Regions from separate parts of the Homo sapiens genome. Here regions 1 and 3 are each linked to region 2. The links are contacts of gene promoters, found by promoter capture Hi-C in human tissues and cell types (Jung and others, 2019). All regions are on one chromosome and are shown on one strand. Each heading gives the region's core, a stretch centred on a gene start or on the middle of the fragment in contact. The rest is flanking DNA. Distances are from core to core; before and after follow the strand shown. Region 1 overlaps MIB1 (MIB E3 ubiquitin protein ligase 1). Region 2 holds the start of ABHD3 (abhydrolase domain containing 3, phospholipase). Region 3 overlaps SNRPD1 (small nuclear ribonucleoprotein D1 polypeptide).

What was found. The method cuts DNA at HindIII sites, captures the fragments that hold promoters and counts their contacts. A contact is called where the count stands out against the background at its distance.
Region 1: a fragment that was not itself captured here is called in contact with the fragment with the promoter of ABHD3 in region 2 in 2 of the 25 tissues and cell types used here (H1 embryonic stem cells and lymphoblastoid cells).
Region 3: a fragment that was not itself captured here is called in contact with the fragment with the promoter of ABHD3 in region 2 in 2 of the 25 tissues and cell types used here (small bowel and thymus).

What each region holds. Positions count from the first base shown.
Region 1 is chr18:21,781,002-21,783,701 of GRCh38, forward strand. The region is part of intron 6 of MIB1 (MIB E3 ubiquitin protein ligase 1); the gene reads left to right. Among named protein-coding and RNA genes, the nearest start is that of MIB1, 42 kb to the left of the region's middle. The HindIII fragment of the contact is 6,307 bases long and covers 1-2,700 here.
Region 2 is chr18:21,703,334-21,706,033 of GRCh38, forward strand. It overlaps ABHD3 (abhydrolase domain containing 3, phospholipase), which reads right to left and starts at 1,441. Exons shown (of 9, transcript NM_138340.5): 1 at 1,171-1,441; 2 at 251-414. The coding sequence starts at 1,332. It also overlaps a transcript of MIB1 not described here. RefSeq lists enhancers at 169-318, 1,779-1,848 and a silencer at 839-1,608. The HindIII fragment of the contact is 17,143 bases long and covers 1-2,700 here.
Region 3 is chr18:21,620,464-21,623,163 of GRCh38, forward strand. It overlaps SNRPD1 (small nuclear ribonucleoprotein D1 polypeptide), which reads left to right. Exons shown (of 4, transcript NM_006938.4): 2 at 2,262-2,338. Among named protein-coding and RNA genes, the nearest start is that of SNRPD1, 9.5 kb to the left of the region's middle. The HindIII fragment of the contact is 8,700 bases long and covers 1-2,700 here.

The DNA of each region.
Region 1 (2,700 bases), core at 63-2,562, 78 kb after region 2:
ACAGGTGTTCCCCTTTTCGTGTGTTCTTGTCAGCATCCGAAAAGCCATTTTCTTTTTTTCTCTTTTTAAAAATTTAAATTAAAAACTTTTTTTATAGTAGAGATAGGGTCTTGCCATATTGCCCAGGCTGGCGCTGAACCCCTGGCCTCAAGTGATCCTCCCACTTTGACCTCCCAAAGTGCTGGGGGCTTGAGCCACCTCGACTGGCCAGTAAAAGCAACAGTAGTTTGAGAGGATTGATATTTGTTCTTTAAATGTTTGGTAGAATCTGGCATTGAAACCATCAGGCCCTGGGGCTTTTCTCTGATGGGAGATATTTTTATTACTTCTTTGATCTTGTTACTCATTATTGGTCTGTTCAAGTTATATATATATATATATATATATATATATATATATATATATATATATATAAAATTATTATTATTATTTTTTGAGATGGGGTCTCCCTCTGTCACCCAGGCTGGAGTGGCACGATGTCAGCTCATTGCAACCTCCGTCTCCCAGGTTCAAATGATTCTCTTGCCTCAGCCTCCCAAGTAGCTGGGATTATGGGCATGTGCCACCACACCCAGCTAAATTTTGTATTTTTTAATAGAGATGGGGTTTCACCATGTTGGCCAGGCTGATCTTGAACCCCTGACCTCAAGTGATCCGCCCACCTTGGCCTCCCAAAGTGCTGAGATTACAGGTGAGCCACCGCCCCTGGCCAGGGTTGATACTTCTTCATGTCTCAATCTTGGTAGGTTGTTTATGTCCAATAATTTATCTATTTCTTCTAGATTTTTCAATTTGTTGGTATATAGATGTTCATGATATTCTGTCATGATCCTTTACATTTCTGTGGTATCATTTATGTCCCCATTTTTGTTTCTGATTTTATTTGGGTCTTCTGGTTTTATCTTAGTTGGTCTACCTAAAGATTTGTTGATTTTGTTTATCTTTTGAAAAATCCAGCTTTTCATTTTGTTGATATTTTCTCTTTTTATTGTCTCAATTTCATTTATTTCTGCTGATCTTTATTACTTCTTCCTTCTACTATTGGATTTGCTTTGTTTTTGCTTTTCTAGTTCCTTGAGCTGTATTGTTAGGTTATTTGAAATCTTCCTACTTTTTAAATTATTATTATTATTTTTTTGAGACGAAGTTTCGCTCTTGTTGCCCAGGCTGGAGTGCAATGGCGCGATCTCAGCTCACTGCAACCTCTGCCTTCTGGGTTCAAACGGTTCTCCTGCCTCAGCCTTCCCGAGTAGCTGGGATTACAGTCATGTGCCACCACGCCCAGCTAATTTTGTATTTTTAGTAGAGATGGGGTTTCTCCATGTTGGTCAGGCTGGTCTTGAACTCCTGACCTCCCGTGATCCGCCCACCTTGGCCTCCCAAAGTACTGGGATTATAGGCATGAACCACTGCATCTGGCGTTAAATTATTGATCAGGTGTTTATTGCTATAGATATCCCTCTTACTACTGCTTTTTCTGTATTTCATGGATTTTGATATGTTGTGTTTCCATTTTCATTTGTTTCAAGAAATTTTAAAATTTCCTTCTTAATTTCTTTATTGACGCTTTCATTGTTCAGGATAATGTTTAATTTCTTTCTAGTGTTATTGCATTGTGGTCAGAAAAGATACTTTATACCATTTCAACTTTTTTGAATTTAGTGAGACTTGTTTTGTGGCCCAATATGTGGTCTCTTTTGGAGAATGTTCCTCGTGCTGATGAGAACAGTGTGTATTCTATGGCAGTTGGATGAAGTATTCTGTAAGTGTCAATTATGTATATTTGGTTTGGATTGTAGTTTAACTTTGATGTTTCTTTGTTGATTTTCTCTCTAGTTGATGATCTGTTCATTACTGAAAGTTAAATGTTGAAATGTCCCCTACTGTTAAAGATATTGCAGTGTATCTTTCCCTTTAGATCTATTGATGTTTGTGTTTTATATTTGGTTGCTCCAGTGTTGAGTGCATATATAATTGTTATATCCTTTTGCTGAATTGACCACTTTATTATTATACAGTGACTTTTGTCTGTTTTTACAGTCTTTAACTTAAAGTCTATTTTATCTGATATAAAAGTATAATTATTCCTGCTCTTTTTTGGTTTCCATTTGTGTGCAATATCTTTTTCCATCCCTTCACTTTCAGTCTGCATGTGTCTTTATAGGTGAAATGAATTTCTTGTAGGGAGCACAGGGTTGGGTCATTTAAACAATTTTCTTTTACCCATTCAGCCACTCTATGCCTTTTTTTTTTTTTCTTGAGATGGAATCTTACTCTGTCGCCCAGGCTGGAGTGCAGTGGGACGATATTGGCTCACTGCAACCTCCGCCTCCCGGGTTCAAGCAATTCTCCTGTCTCAGCCTTCCGAGTAGCTGGGACTACAGGTGCCCTCCACCAAGCCCAGCTAATTTTTGTATTTTTAGTAGAGATGGGGTTTCACCATATTAGTCAGGCTGGTCTCTAACTCCTGACCTCAGGTGGTCCTCCCGCCTCAGCCTCCCAAAGTACTGGGATTACAGGTGTGAGCCGCTGTGCCCGGCCTCACTCTATGTCTTCTAGTTGGAGAATTAGTTCATTTACATTCATTGTTGTTATTGATAGGTAAAGATTTACTACTGCTATTTTTGTTACTTGTTATTTGGTTGTTTTGTAACTCGTCTCTTCCTTTTTTTTTTCTTGCCCTCTTCCTTTGTGGTTAGG
Region 2 (2,700 bases), core at 191-2,690:
TCATCCTAAAAATAAACCATTTACATCAGGTTGGCGGTTAGGGCGGGGACCAGGAGGCAAATACCTGCAGCTGGGGTATTTTCCTGCAGCTGGGGGTGGAGCCGGGGACGTACCTTCCATTTTCATTCCCTCTTTCTGTTCTATATACTTCCTAAAGCAGATTCTATTAACCAAGAACTGGGAATAAGCAAGCAAGCAAACAAACAACCTGTGATTTTGCAGAAATGACTGAAAACGGAAATTCACTTACTTCCTGTACTGCACCGGGGGCTTCGAAGTGATGAAAGGTCTAAGCAGGGTCTGTCCTCGACCCTCCCAGCACCAGACCGTCGGGTAGTACGTTTCTGTAACCACGGGACAGTGGTCTTGAAGGAAGCGGCTGAAACTCTCACCCCCGGTCACTAACTGGGGTTTCTGAAGGGAAAAGCAGTATCAGAGAAGGGCCCAGAGCAAAGTTTCTGCCAACCGTAAACCAGAAACCGGCAAAGACTTGTCGCTCGCGCGCGCGCTTCCTCCGATTACAACTCTTTCTGGAGGGCTGACGCAAAAAATTCACAGTCACAGAGGACTGAAACGGGGGTTTCGCCAATGCCCCGAGGGGAAGGCGAGAATCGCGATAAGGGAGTTTGTTTGTTTTTAACTCCGCCTCCCGGGTTCAGGGGATTCTCCTGCCTCAGCCTCCCGAGTAGCTGGGATTGCAGGCGTCCGCCACCACGCCCGGCTAATTTTTTGTAATTGTAACGGGGTTTCACCATTTTGGTCAGGCTGGTCTCGAACTCTTGACCTCAGGTGATCCACCCGCCTCGGGCTCCCAAAGTGCTGAGATTACAGGCGTGAGCCACCGTGCCCTGCCCGGAGTCATTTTCAAAAGCGCCACGGCGTTCCCGAGTGCGCCGCCGGCTTCGCGATCGGTGACCGGGCAGCGCCGCAGCGCAGAAGTCAGCCGGGTTCAGGCTGCGCTCCGAGGACCACCCGGCCGGGACCCCCAGGGGGCGGGCGAACGGGCGGGGCCTGTTGGCTTTCCCGCGCGCGCTGGGGGCTGCCGCTCGGGAGCAGCTCGCCGCCTATCCCCGGGGCTGCCGACCGCCCCTGGCCGCGCAGCCTCGCGCCGCGCCTGCTACCCTAGCTCCTGGCCCAGCAGCCCGCGGCCCTGCGCCACCCCCGGCTCACCTTGGCAATGCTGCTCAGGTAGTAGAAGGCATAAGCGACGCTGAAGCCCAGGATAAGGGATAAGCCCACCCCCGAGCCGAAGAACCCCACCCGGACTTGGTGTTCCAGGTAGAGGGAGAGCTCCCGGGACAACATCCGCAGGTCCATGGCCAGGCGCTGCATGGCCCCCGAGCGCGGCGCGCGGGTCCTGCGGCGGGAGGAGAGCCGGCTGGCGAGCGGGCGAGAGCGGGCGAGAGCGGACGCGGCGCCGCTGCCTACTCCCGACCACAGTGTCTCCTGCCTGGCGGAGCGCGGCTTCCGACAACGGGCGGGGCGGAGCGGCCCAGGGAGGCGTAGCCCGAGACTCCAACGCCGCCCGCTCCGCCCCGGCTTCCTGGAGCCGCCCCCACTGCCAGCCACTCAGGAACCTTCCAGAAGCGCGGTTCCAAGACCGGCCACCGGGAGGGCGGGCGGACTGGGTTCTCCCAGCTAGGTCGCAGTGGGCGATGGGGATCCCCAAGGGTGGGCCGAGAGCTGACGGATCGGCAGCGCTGGTTAAGGCCCCGCACCTGCAGCCCCAGTGACCTTGAACGATTCCGCTCTGCGGCGGGTGTCCCTAAACTAGCAGTTTAGGGTGTCAGGTAAGCGTGCCTTGCATTCAAAGATTTGGGGAGTTAATGCCAAAGATATGTTAGCAGGTAAGAATCCCACATCCTCTAGACGTTTGCGTTGGTCCTCAAGACTATGGAAAGAGAAAAAATATTCTATGAGCATTCAACAGTGAGGACATCATACTCGACTCTGAATCACTCTGTGAATCTTTTTAGTTGCTAAGTGTCACTTAAATGAGAAGTGGTCTCTGAAAATAAATGAAAAGGTCAAGAATAGCAACCGGGATTCAATTGTTAAAAGCCTATTTGTGGTTCATTAATGCTTTGAATTTAGAGACTTATGGAAATTCACACCGATTACCTAATGTACAGACAAGAAACCATTTATGAAGTAGGGTCTCCTAGGCTTATTTATGGCAATATGATAAATCAGGATACTTATGGTTATCTGAAATGGTTAGAATTTAATAGCCTATTCCTACTCTTATGAACTCCTTCCTCAGAGAGGTAGGAAGAATGGCAAGACTTAAACAGACGAAAGAAGGGAAAGTGCTGTCTAGATTATGAAAAATGCCAAAGGATTGTAAATTAATGATGTAATTTAGATGGGGACATGAGACGGACCAGAAGTGAGCAATTTATTTGGCTCCGATTTGGTCATTGCAACTTGGTGGTTGGCTGCAGCACCCAAAATAATTCAATTACCTTTACTGAGCCTGTTTTTTTCTTGTTTTAATAATCTGTAGCGTAACAATTTCTACTTTATAGAGTTCCCGAGAGGACAAGATAGTGTATATACTGGACTCCCCGTGAGCAGAAGTAATTTTCACGCTCTGGCTCTCACACCTGAGCACACATAGCAAACGTGAATGCATATGCTGGTTGCCATACTTGAAACTTCATAGCATTCTTCATAACCCCTGCACCAGCCTTCTGCACT
Region 3 (2,700 bases), core at 161-2,660, 83 kb before region 2:
CGGAAATTTAGATGAAGTGAGAAGTGGATAGATTGTTCATTATATATTATCAAGGCAACTGGCTATTCAGTTGGGGAAAGTAATAAAGACAGATTTGTGCCTTACACTGCATAAAAAAGATCAATTCCAAGTAGATTAGAACTCTAAAAGTAGAAGAAAATAAGACACTATTTTTTTACAATCTTGGCATAGAAAAAACCCTTTCTTAGGTAAATTATGTATCCCAGGAGGGTGAACAAATTCAAAACATAAAAGTGAAAAAAGTTTGTGTGACTAAAGAAACCATAAACAACAAACTTGAATGACTGGCAAACCAGTAGAAAATAAAAGAAAAACTCAACCTAATTGAGAATGTCAATAATGTGAACAGGTAATTCACGGAAGAAATAGTTTTCCCATGTTAATGAAAAGATATTCAGGCAGGGCGCGGTGGCTCATGCCTGTAATCCCAGCACTTTGGGAGGCCGAGGCGGGTGGATCACGAGGTCAGAAGATCAAGGCCATCGTGGTTAACATGGTGAAACCCCGTCTCTACTAAAAAAAAAATACAAAAAATTAGCCAGGTGTGGTGGCGAGCGCCTGTAATCCCAGCTACTCGGGAGGCTGAGGCAGGAGAATGGCGTGAACCTAGGAGGCGGAGGTTGCAGTGAGCCGAGATTGTGCCACTACACTCCAGCCTGGGTGACAGAGCGAGACTCTGTGTCAAAAAAAAAAGATAAGATATTCAATCTCACAGGTAATTAAGGAAAAGCAAATTTTTTCCCCATCAAATTGACAAAAATTTGAAAGACTTATAGCAACTTGTGTTGGTGAGGGTTTGCATAATTGGGTTTGTAATGGGAAAAAATTGAACCAAAGTAATGTCCGTCAACAGGCGGTAATAAATTTTGACATTTCCATATAGTGGAATACTTTCCAGTTCTTAGAATGTTATTTTGTTATTTTGGCTTTTTGTGAGATGGAGTCTTGCCCTGTCACTCAGGCTGGGGTACAGTGGAACAATCTCACCTCACTGCAAATGCTGCCTCCCGGGTTCAAGCGATTCTCATGCCCCAGCCTTCCAAGTAGCTGGGATTACAGGCGTGCGCCACCTTGCCTCGCTAATTTATTTTTATTTTTTTTTAATTTTTTTTGAGATGGAGTCTTGCTCTGTCCCCAGGTTGGAGTGCAGTGGTGCGATCTTGGCTGACTGCAATCTCTGCCTCCCAGGTTTAAGCGATTCTCCTGCCTCAGCCTTCTGAGTAGCTAGGATTACAGGCGTACGCCATCCTGCCCAGCTAATTTTTGTGTTTTTGTAGAGATGGAGTTTCACCATGTTGGCCAGGCTGGTCTTGAATTCCTGACCTCAGATGATCCGCCCTCCTCGGCCTCCCAAAGTGCTGGGATTATAAATAGGCATGAGCCATCACGCCCAGCCTCAGTTCTTAGAATGTTTTGTATGTTGAAATGGAAATATGTCCAATATAAACTGCTAAACGAGGACTACAAGTTATAGACGTGAATAAAATATGACCCAATTTATGTCAAAAGAAATCTGTATATATCCTTCTGAATGCATATAAAGTGATCTGGAATAATATTCCTACATACCCACAGTGCAGGGGGTTAGGAAGGGAGATTTTTACTTTATAGGCATTATAATAAGCTTGTAATCTTTTTACCGACTGTAATTCTTTATTTCTTTTTTTTTTTTTGAGACGGAGTCTCGCTCTGTTGCCCAGGCTGGAGTGCAGTGGCGTGATCTCGGCTCACTGAGAGCTCTGCTTCCCAGGTTCACCCCATTCTCCTGCCTCAGCCTCCCGAGTAGCTGGGACTACAGGTGCCCGCCACCATGCCCAGCTAATTTTTTGTATTTTTTAGTAGAGACGGGGTTTCACCATGTTAGCCAGGATGATCTCGATCTCCTGACCTCGTGATCCGCCCGCCTTGGCCTCCCAAACTGCTGGAATTATAGGCGTGAGCCACCACGCCTGGCCTATTTCTTTTTCATGGTTTATAATGAGTCTAAGATCTTGTATGTCTGGATTTCAGGTTTGAGAATTAGAAACGTCCAAATGACAGTTTATGTTAGTATTGTTGTGTTCCTTCATAAAGGTTGAGGATATAATTCAGGAAAGCTGAAATTGTTATGCAGATTATTGATAGGAATTGATGCAGATAGCATCTAGCAAATTTTCAACATCGAGTTGTTTCACCCTTTCACCTTAATAAATGTGATTTTAAAGTGTTACAGGTAAAAATGGTTTTATTCCTATTTATAGATTTTTGATGAAATTGAGTCATGAAACTGTAACCATTGAATTGAAGAACGGAACACAGGTCCATGGAACAATCACAGGTACGGAGGTTGGACTGCTTTTATAACATTTTTTTTCTTCTCTTTTACCTAGCCAGAGTTTATTTTTTTATTGCTTAATGAACATTATTGTAGTACAAATCCTTATTTTTTTTGTCTGAATTATGTAATTTTTTTTTTTTTTTTTTAAACAGTTTTGCTCTGTCACCTGGGCCGGAGTGCAGTGGCACGATCTCAGCTCACTGCAACATCCGCCGCCTGGGGTCAAGCAATTCTCCTGTCTCAGCCTCCCAAGTAGCTGGGACTACAGGTGCCTGCCACCATGCCCGGGTAAATTTTTTTTTTAGACGGATTCTCACTCTGTTACCCAGGCTGGAGTGCAGTGGCACAATCTCAGGTCACTA